2 separate regions of the Homo sapiens genome follow, and region 1 is linked to region 2. The links are contacts of gene promoters, found by promoter capture Hi-C in blood cells and fetal thymus (Javierre and others, 2016). All regions are on one chromosome and are shown on one strand. The core of a region is centred on a gene start or on the middle of the fragment in contact, and the rest is flanking DNA. Distances in the headings are between cores, read along the strand shown.

Region 1 (5,011 bases), core at 1,052-3,551, 670 kb after region 2:
TGATATTGCACTATAGTTTTATAAGTCATTACCAATGGTGAAAAATAGGGAAAGAGTACACAGATCTTTCTGTATTATTTCTTACAACAACATGTGAATCTATAATTTTTGCAAAATGAATGTTAGTTTAAAATATTCCAAGTTTTAATTTTGAATATATATTTGTGGTAATAACTCACATATAAAACTTTTTTGGAGCACTCAACAATGTTTAAGGGTAAATGGGTCTCGAGAACAAAATTCTTGAAAACTTCTAGGTGATTCAGCACATTACAATTGCTGGTACAAAATGTAAAATAACATATGTTGAATGAATATATAATTTTCAAATGGCTATATGTAATCAAAAAATGGTATACATTACCTAAGAATATGTTTTAGTTAAATGTCAGGAGTGCCTGATGTTTGACTGCTTAGGTTTCTATTACTTGCTGGAATTTTAGTTAACTTCAGCATTAAAGTTCTTAGCTTGGAAGTTAAGAAAGTTGATGTTGTCACTTCATCTAATGGATAGATGATACAATGATAGGAAAACAAAACTTTTAGCAACTTCTAAGGACATCTTTCTTTTCTTTTCTGATATCAAAATGTATGACTCAAGATGATGTCTCTGTCATGCTGATGTAAAAAGCAAGCCCCAAATTTCAGTGGCTTAGCCAATAAAGGCATATCTATTATCCTTATACAGAGAAACAGACCTGCAGATCCTACGCTATCTGGAAAGTTGTTAGTCTACCACCCGAGGAAGGGGACACAACAACCTATGCACCATTTCTTGAAATCTCTGTCCAGAAGTGACACATAACTTCTGCTCACATATCATTTGCCAAGACAAGTCACAAGGAAAACACGTGCTACAAAGTGCCCTGAAAAAGAGGATCAGAAATTTGATAAACTGAACCAATATATATTTTCCACATAGCATTTCAGATATATTAAATCGGCAACCATCAGATTACTGATAAATGTGGAGAACAAAACAATCTGATATGCATTAGGAATTTTCAGTAGACAATGATAGGGCTGACAGAATTCTCTTTGTTTTGTGGAAAATTTAACACTGGAATACAGAGTTCAATAAATACTGAAAAGGGATTTTCCAAACTGCTATTGTATACATGCTATTTGACCACCCTACATACATTATAACAATTAAGCTTTGGGATGTCCACTGATGATAAATGAAATCAGGACAAGAGACAAGCATGCAGCATTTCTCATTTACCTGAAGTTGATTATTTTAGCTTTTGTTTCACAAGGTGTTTTCTGTACTCTCTGGAGTACCCAACATCTATGCTGGACAGACAATCTTGGAGGGTCTTTTCTAGACTGTGTTTCCTGGAATAGTAGTCCAAATTCCTCAATCTACTCAAGTACACTTGGAAAATAATGCATACTCTACACTCCACATGAATAGTCACAATGCACATTAACATATTAAAATCTCTGAGAATTTCTGTAAAAAATAACCTGTTGGACACATAAAATGTAACAATGTCTACCTAGGTATTAAGTTTATATTAATTTCTTTTAACCCCTAAAACACGAGATGGGTATATAATTATCCTTATTTTATCAATCCCTTTGTCTTATAAAACTTCTTAAATTCTACAAATTTATACTGGGGAATTTCTATTTTTCTTTGAGAGGTGTTCTTTAAACATAAGAGAAATTGAGGGTCACCTATGAATTAAGATGGAGCTATAGTTGGCAGAGTAAATATTAAGCTTATGTAGTAGAACTTAAAATAGACTATGGTGTCCTGAGAAACCTAAAATTTATGGTCTGATATTTTAAAATAAACTTATTTCCCATTCCTCTTGGTCAGAATTGCCCCTGCATTTTAAAAGGCATAACAATTAGGGTTATACCTTGGACAGAAAATATTATTTTAAGAGACTAGAAAGTGAACCCGAATTGGGGGAAGGTTCTCTAGTTTATGCGTTTTAGCAGATAGGTCATTGTTAATTTGAGGAAACTGTAATGTTGGGCTTAAGTGTATGAGGTACAAACAGTAAACATCAACTGCACAGAGGCAAAGTAACAGCACTCTGGAAGGTAGTAAGTGATGAGACATTTTAGCGTAATATCTGGATCTAAAATTATGGAAAACGAGAGAGTAAAGACCAGTATGTCTAAACAATGGTTTTCAAACGTTGGTGAGTCTCAGAGGTACCTAGTTAAATATATTGAATTTGCCGCCTCTCGCACTCTTTCCCAACACACTCTTCATGTCAATTTCATATGTTTAGGGTAGAGTCCAAACTTCAGGATTTTTAGTTAGCTATCTGTTCTCTACACTTTTAGAATCATTACTTTTTAATGCCACCATATTGTCATGAAAGAAGAGTCATACCACAGAGACCACAGAAGACAAATTTTATAATTGTGTTTTACATCTGAGAATGAATGGGGTGAAGCTCCCCACTCTCCTTTGAACTACAGGGTCTTTGCTTCTAGTTTAAGAGTCCTTTTCAGGTGAATTTTCTCAGGCTTTTCCAGGGGCCCAAAGCTATTTTGAATTCAAAGTCTCATTTTAAATGTCTTGCTTTCATTCACTTTCTGATAAAAGAATATCTATCAACATATATTAATTTGTTCAATATCAGTAGGAGCTTTAAAGCAATAATGTATAACTAGCAGATTTTCTTTGACAGTGCATGGCAAATTATATTTTCTATTCCACAAATACCATGAATATTCAATGAGCAAGGGAAGGGAAACTGTAATCTTCTTCAGGAAAAAAAAAAGGTATAAAAAAGTAAAAAACAAAACTTTCAATATCACATTAAGGGTTAAATGAAAGCTACATTCAGTTATTGAAGTCTACCGTTTAACCCATTACATTATGACTTCCCAATTAAAATAAGCTTGAGGAAGCATTTATAATTGTAGCATATTTACATGTATTTTCATGTGGGTCAAAAAGCTTACACACTTCAAATATTTATTCATTGGAATATCATTTGATGAGAGAATTCATAATAGAAATTTTTTGTATAGTTTAAAGTTATGAAACCCACGTAATATATATGTGAAATTTTATAAGCAGAATTGAATTACTATTAATAAAAATTAATTTTCAAATTAGAATTAATAACTAAGAATTCAAAGTATATATATCCCATAAAAGTAATTAATGGCAAATATGTAAAAAAGCTAAATATATGTCTTGACATTTTACTTATATAGGAGACAGATATTTCATTTTTAGTGCAAGGATTGATTTTTAATTCTCAGAAAGGATTGTATTCTCATTTCATGTTTATTTCAAGCCCTGGGTTTTGTGAACTTGGTTTTCTTTTTTTATAGTACCAGTCTCCTGAGATGCTCCCAGAGAGGAAAGCAATCATCAGTCAATATTTAGACTTGGGCATTCTTCTGATTAATGGAAGGCCAGGCCATGGTCTCCTAAGGCACCTTGTGCAATTTCACAGGTTTATTCATAGCTAGACAACCAAAATCTTCATAAGTAATTGAAACTCCGATTTTGGCAACTTTCACTATATTTGCTTGTCAACTGTGATGCAGGCATAAATGCCATGCTACCATTAAGTACTTTAATCCATTTTAATAATCCTTTGATATATTCTTTTCTAACATGAGGTAAAATATTGTCAATGATAGTCAAGAAAAGGTACGTATTCTGTGTTATTTTTCACTTTATAAAAGTAGAATAATTGGATTACAGTTTAGACTACATTGGCTAAGTATTATTTTAATGACTTGAAGACATATGCAGGTGAAAATGTTGCTATAGAAATAGATTATAACTTACCATAGACATAGATCATTTGTTTTCCTGGGATAAACAATGATATGATTCATCAATCGGAGACAAGCCAAGAGAGAAAAAATATTCTAACAAAAGTTACGATTATGGTGGTATGGCAAACTCAAGAAGATTCAATATGTTGCCCCCTAACCTATATCTATTTAGAGAGCCACCATTGCAAGCTTAATATTATTACAGAGTGTTTTGAACATCAACTACTTAGAATAACTGATACAACATTCCCTTATGACCTCCTAAACACATAGTCACCAAAAACTCTTTATACACTCAGTATTACTGAATGTTGGAAACTTAAGCAGCTATACATTAAATCCTCCGTGACAAAATCAAGTCAGTCTTTCTCCTACTCTAATTTTGTTCTCCAGTGCTGTTAGTGATCCTTGTTTCATAAACCTGAAAATAAATCCTGGGATGCTCTATATTTACCTGTATTGCTGCTGTAATGTTTTTTGTCTGTTTGTTCCATATGGAATTGATTTTTGGCTATTTGCATTCAGATGTCTCTGGCTCCAATTTTTGGTTTTCAAGAACTCCGAGTGTTGTCCTTTATACACGCATGAAGTTACTTGCACATGGTCTGTGCTGCTGGACCATGCTCTTTTGAATCTTTGTCCAACATGCCTGTCTAGACATTCCTATTCCCTTTCTGTGGTATTGGTATCTGCTGACAAAAGTCTTAAATATCCTGTTAAGATTTCTTCCCTTCAGTTTTTAAATCATTTTTAATTTCACCATAGGTGGTGCTATGGGCCGAATTGTGTTCATCAAAATTTGTATGCTGATGCCCTAGCACCTAGTACTACAGAATGGACTGTATTTGGAGGTAGGGGTTTTTAAAGCAGTAATTAGGTTAAAATGAGATTATTAAGGAAGGCTCTATTTCAGCGTAACTGTACCTATTTTCAGTACAACTCCTTAAAGAAAAGATGAGGACACAGACACACACAGAGCGAAGACCATGTGAAGACATAAGGAGGAGAAGACAGCCATATGCAAACCAAAGAAAGAGGCCTCAGAAGATACCAACCCTGTGGACATGTTGATCTATGACTTTTTGCCTCCAAAACTATGAGGAAATATATGTCTATTGTTTATTTCACTCAGACTGTGGTATTTTCCTATGGCGGCCCTAACAAACTAATACGGGTGAGTTCACCTTGTTAAATATGGAGGATTAAGAACACACATTGATCTCTGCTCCACCCCTACCTTCCA
Region 2 (5,511 bases), core at 1,720-4,219:
TGTGGGATGTGCTTATTCATTCAGTTAGATACAGGAGCTAGAATTTAAAATAATCATAGATAGAAGCTATGAAATGCTAGGGTCTAGGAGGAATACTGTCATAGAATGACTCATTTTTCAAAGTAAAACAGAACCACTGATTGTTAAAGCATGAAAAGCATGAAGTGATTCCAGCAGCAAGTAAGAGTCACTTAGTTACACAATGGCAAGGGATTGAACAGCTATGTCTCCTGAAAAGGTGACAAGACAAGCCCATCTTGCAAGTCACTGAATCCTTCATGCAACATGCTATGTGCAAGTCTCCAGGGGACCCATCTTCTTGGCTATTCCTAAAATTCCATGAGATGTTTTTCTGCCTTACTATCAGATTAGTCTTACTACAAACATATTACTGATGGTAGCTGGACTGAGTTGCTGTTCTACCCTACTGAACTGAACTCTACCTGGGGGCCTGAATCATGTTTAATTTATCTTTATAGACATCTCATTTAGACAGAGTACCCCTGCCGCCAAAGTGGCAGTTCGAGAGAATAAACAAAATTGGTTGATGAATTATTTGACATAATGACATATTACTAGAAGGGCACCCTCTCTCATTCTGACCATATGAGAAAGACTTAGACAAACATTTCTAATGAAATTCAGAATCAAGAGAGCTTGCCTTATATTTGAGACTTTCTTTGGGAGGTCAGCCCTTTGAGTTGATTGGAGGTGACTTTAAACTCTAAGTGGGGTTACTTAAATAAAGAGATTAGTTTGTTACCAACAGATTCTGAATAAAATTCAACTTTCCTTATTTTAAAAATGATACTCATTAGCGTCATTCTATCTGTATCTTATTTAATGCTTGTAATAATCCTGAGGCATCAGAATCCTTTTCCTCTATATTGAGATGAAAACCTGGCACAGACAGAGTAGAAACCAGTGGACTAAAAGGATAGCAGAGTGCACAGTAGGGTACTTAACCATGCCTGAGATGCTGAGTCCATTGTGCTGGTCTTTGGCAAAGCCCATGAATGGAATGCACAGAGCTCAATTCCTCCTCGAAGCCTTGAACCTCTCACTTTATTTTTCCTTGCCTGTTGCTTCCTGATGTGTGTGTGTACGTGTGTGTATTTCTTCAGCTCATTCCCTTTTTCTTTGGCTTCTTTTTTCAGTCCTACACTTAAGCTGCAAAGGACCACAAGCTACGTATGAATTGATTTACCTTTTTAATCCATCCTTCCCAGTCCAGTTTCAGCCAGGCAAAAGTTAAAGTGGCTGGTTCCGCTCCTGGGCCTGTCACATCTGGGGTACCTTGAGATACCTGATGGGCATAGTCTTCCAAATGACTGCACCCTGCCCTACTCCACCACTTGCACAACTTCGCATGGTCTCAAATATAGTCTTTAGTTCCCAGAATAGCATAGTGCACTCACTCTAAGGATGCAATTTATTCACTCATACTAATTGCTGCTTAATTCTGCATTCACCCCAGCAGCTAAGACAATTAGTGTTCACAAGCCATAATGTTATGCCATGTTTAGTTTGCAAATAAAGTGACATGCTCATATTCTGAAAGGAAGAACTTAAATCCAAACTTTTAAAAACTTCAACTTTTACATATTTTACAAATTTTCAAATGTTACATATTTAGTGTTAATTTTATCAAGACGGGGGACATACATACCATATGGTCTCAGACAAATCACCTAACTGCTCTGTATGTCAATGTTATTTAAAGTTAAATTTTACTTTCTTCAAAGGATTATGGTTAAGCTCAAATGACATTAGGTCCTTTATAAAAAGATAAAAGATAGTTTGTAATATTTTTTTAAATTATCAATACCTTCTGATGGACAGCATCAATGTGCCTTCGATTTAGGTTTGGAAATTGTGCTTTCACAATTTTATTTAGACAGCTACAACTTTAAAGTAAAAAGCTTGTATAATAATTAAAAACTGATTGATTTTAACGAAATCACAGAATTCAGAATCTCCTAGTCACCCACTGATTTAGGGCTAAATAGTTAAATAAATGACTGAGTGTCTGGTAGTTAATCTTTACACAGTTTCACATTCATGCCTGAAATAAGCAAATTGTACATAGGAGTTCAAAGTTTAGAACCTGACTTAAAAATATGTTGAGAAAGCGTGTAGTTTTTCATTAGTAAAGAAAAAAGGAAAAACAATATGCATATTGAGCAAGATTCTTTAAGCATATCATTGAGAAATGGGTAACATTACTCTGCTACGAGTGTATATTTCATATCTAGGATATGAATTACTTGCTGAACACGTTAAGAAAATCAATACATTTGCTTCAGTGTTACTACTAAATAACACCCCACTGGCCTCAAAATAAAAGCAGAAAGGAAAAAAGAAAATCTAGTATATTTTTAAAAAGTGTATCAACTTTCTTTTCTTAGGTTTCATAAAATGAAAGGGGAAGAAACTCTGTTCAAGAGTAGGCATTTTCACTTCTCTAAATAAATATTTAATATGACTACTAGCAGCATAAGACAATTAAAGTTACCAGAAAACAGAGGACTTAAAATCTGTTTAAGAATATCTTTCCCTCGTCTGGAGTTTGACCTAATCTTACCGCTTAAACTCAAATAAGAACAGGACTAACTTTGGTTTGTCAAATGTAACCATATTCAGTGCACTATGTTCATCAGTTCTTTTCTATTACATTAGTAAAGATCTTTTCATTTAACCCATTTCTAAAGGTGGGGCCTTTAGGAAGGTCATACCATTTTTATTTACAAAAAGAATATATATAAAAAAAGAAGAGAGTAGCAGAAAAAAACCTCTAAAACACTATGACAAGGATTCTAGCTGACAGAAGTTTCATTTGGAAAAAACATGGAGTAAACATTAGGGTAGAGAGTTTTTATCAGCGCCTCAAGCTTACCAGCTAGGATCCCAATGGAGTGTTTGGCTCCCAGAATCTCTCCAAGAACCTCTCAAGAATTCCTTGAAAATGTACAGGCCAGATCTTAGGGTGAGAAATTCAAAGAACTGCTCAGACTCCACCCAGTGGAGAATTTATAAATATTTTACTTTACTTCCTCTCCCCTAACCAATCGGTAATCTCCAGCCACTGTCAGAAATTTAAGCAACATGTGCTCCTGCCCACCATTTCAAATGCCAGAGCCTCCAGTGAGGGCTTCTTTCCAGAGGCAACTTTGCTCTTTAAACTCAGGTAAACACACACTTGTCCTTTAACTATATAAATCTCTGACCCCTGAACTGATGAGTTGGTCTTAGAGCTAAATTCCAAATTTTGCCTTTCTTCTTCACTTTGAGCTCTGGATTTTTGAGACAATACCCTCCTTCAAATACACTGAGGATTTTCAGTCTGATGGTTGAATCTATGACATTTAATGGGTAAACTTTTTAGTCAAAAGTTTAAAATAGGCTCTCAATTCCAGAATACACTCTATTGCCTAATATGTGAGTTTTCAAAAACTCCTAGGTAATAAATCTGGACAGTTAACAAGACAATGAAGGAAGAAAGATCTGAAGATTCAAGTGGAAACTAGCCTGGCAAACTTCATTAATGCAAATTATTCATTTAAGTCTGTGAATTGTCTTTTGTTCTAGTCTGACTACCTCTTTAGGCTTATTCCTGAGCTTGGGTCTTTTGATGAATATCCTTGTAGTTATAAAAACTAAGAGCAAAGACTTTCGATATTAGGACTAGGGATGAAGAATGTGCTTGAATAATTGAATGACTTATGCACACCTATGCTTTATTTAGTAACCCACAACAAATCAAGTAAAGTGTCATTTAATCATTTCTATCAAGTGTTCATTGTATAACCCTGAGCAATTCACTTAACCCTTGTGGAGGCTCAGTCTCCTATTTATCAAATGAACTTAATAATACCTTCCTCCCAAGATTACTGAAACGATAAAACCATGCAGGTTGAAGGCCATAGATACCATGACACTCAAGTCAAAAGTGACATATTGTCTTTTTTTTAATCTTAAGTAACCAGACAAAAAGTACTACTCTCCAGTTTCCAAGAGAGGGAGATAAAGTGCATGAAATTGCTTTAATACGAGTAATTGACCAGTGAAAATAAAATATATTTCACTTCATTGATCCTATCCTTACAATAATCCTATAAAGTAAGTAGACTACCAATTGATTAACTTAGAATAGTAAAAGTTTGAATCCATTCAGGAAATTTCAGAAGGTGTACTTTTTTTGCATCTATTCTGTGTATGCCTCATGCTGTAAAAACTTTGGAAGATTACCAGGCTCTAATATATGGGGAGCGAACCAGAGGGCGGATCTGTGTCATTTTTGTGTCACTCTTTTAAAGACTGACTATAGATTTAGAGAGCTAGATATGGACATTAAGGTTTTGTTTTCACAAGATCTTGCTTCTTCTAAAATCTTGTAATAATATGATTAAAAATTTCATCAAAATATTATCTTAAAAACTACTGTTTAACTTGTCACCTTTAAAGAACTTGCTTGGAGGTCTAAGCTATACTTCTATTTCTTATGTTTTATAAATTTCTTTCTTTCTTTAAATTTGTTACATTTGAGGAATAAAAATAAAATCCCAAGCCCCTAGATTAACTGAACGGACACGCTCTTGGCCAAGGGGATCCCAGAGTAAACTTGAAAACTAAGTTTTTGGCCATGACAGGATAGGAAGTGGAACACATACCCGCTCCATCACTAACTATGATTAGGCTTTCTGCCCTATGGCTAAAAAGAAACCAGTCATTTCAAAAGATTACACCAATGACATCAACCATCACCTGGTGTTATCCCTCTCTTTTGTGGTTTGGAACAAAAAGAAAATACTGATCATGGAATGTTTCTGGCTAGTCTATGGAGAATGTGCAGTAAAGGTTTTCATGTCCTCTGCTTCACATTGGGCTGAAAACTGCCCCCTCAGATTGTATTAATGCTGTCATTTTTTGAACACGGATCCCATGGAGAAGCATGAAACTCCATTGTGCATGTGCACATTTCTCCTTTCACAAATATTCATGGCTTCCCCTATAGCTTATTGAATATATATATTCAGCTACCCTGCTCAACATAAATTTCTGTTTCCTTTGCTCCTCCCTCAAAATGTCTGTTTCCAGCTTCTGATTAGAGGCTATACTTTTCAGAGGTCAGAATGATCACCCTGCAGGCTGCAATCCTTTATGTGAAATGAAGCTCTCCTTTCCAAATGTATGAACCTGTCATTCTTCAGTTGACACTTTCATTCATTCAAGAAAAGTATTAAGCATATTCTCTGTACCAAGCACAAAGTGAAATGCCAGGGATGTAATGGGGAGCAAAACTTGTATAATAACATAGGCCGCTAAATACAGAAGGGAATTATGAGAGAACGAGTCATGCGGGGAGGGGTGAAAGCAAGACCCGCTACAGGGCCAGCAGTCAAGGTTAAACAGAGAACACTGTGAGATACCATTCCTTCCTTTTGGAAACAGGAAGAAAAAAAGTGTTGCCAGAATAAGCTGTTGTACAATTCCGAGTTGTCTATTAATTTC

What was found. Contacts are between HindIII fragments. The CHiCAGO score rates a contact against its expected background, and 5 or more counts as called.
Region 1: a contact is called between a fragment that was not itself captured here and the fragment with the promoter of KYNU in region 2, in 1 of 17 cell types (endothelial precursors). The highest score is 6.1, in endothelial precursors.

What each region holds. Positions count from the first base shown.
Region 1 is chr2:142,208,333-142,213,343 of GRCh38, reverse strand. No RefSeq gene overlaps it. Among named protein-coding and RNA genes, the nearest start is that of LRP1B, 80 kb to the right of the region's middle. The HindIII fragment of the contact is 1,143 bases long and covers 1,730-2,872 here.
Region 2 is chr2:142,875,122-142,880,632 of GRCh38, reverse strand. It overlaps KYNU (kynureninase), which reads right to left and starts at 2,969. Exons shown (of 14, transcript NM_003937.3): 1 at 2,897-2,969. The HindIII fragment of the contact is 4,288 bases long and covers 2,894-5,511 here.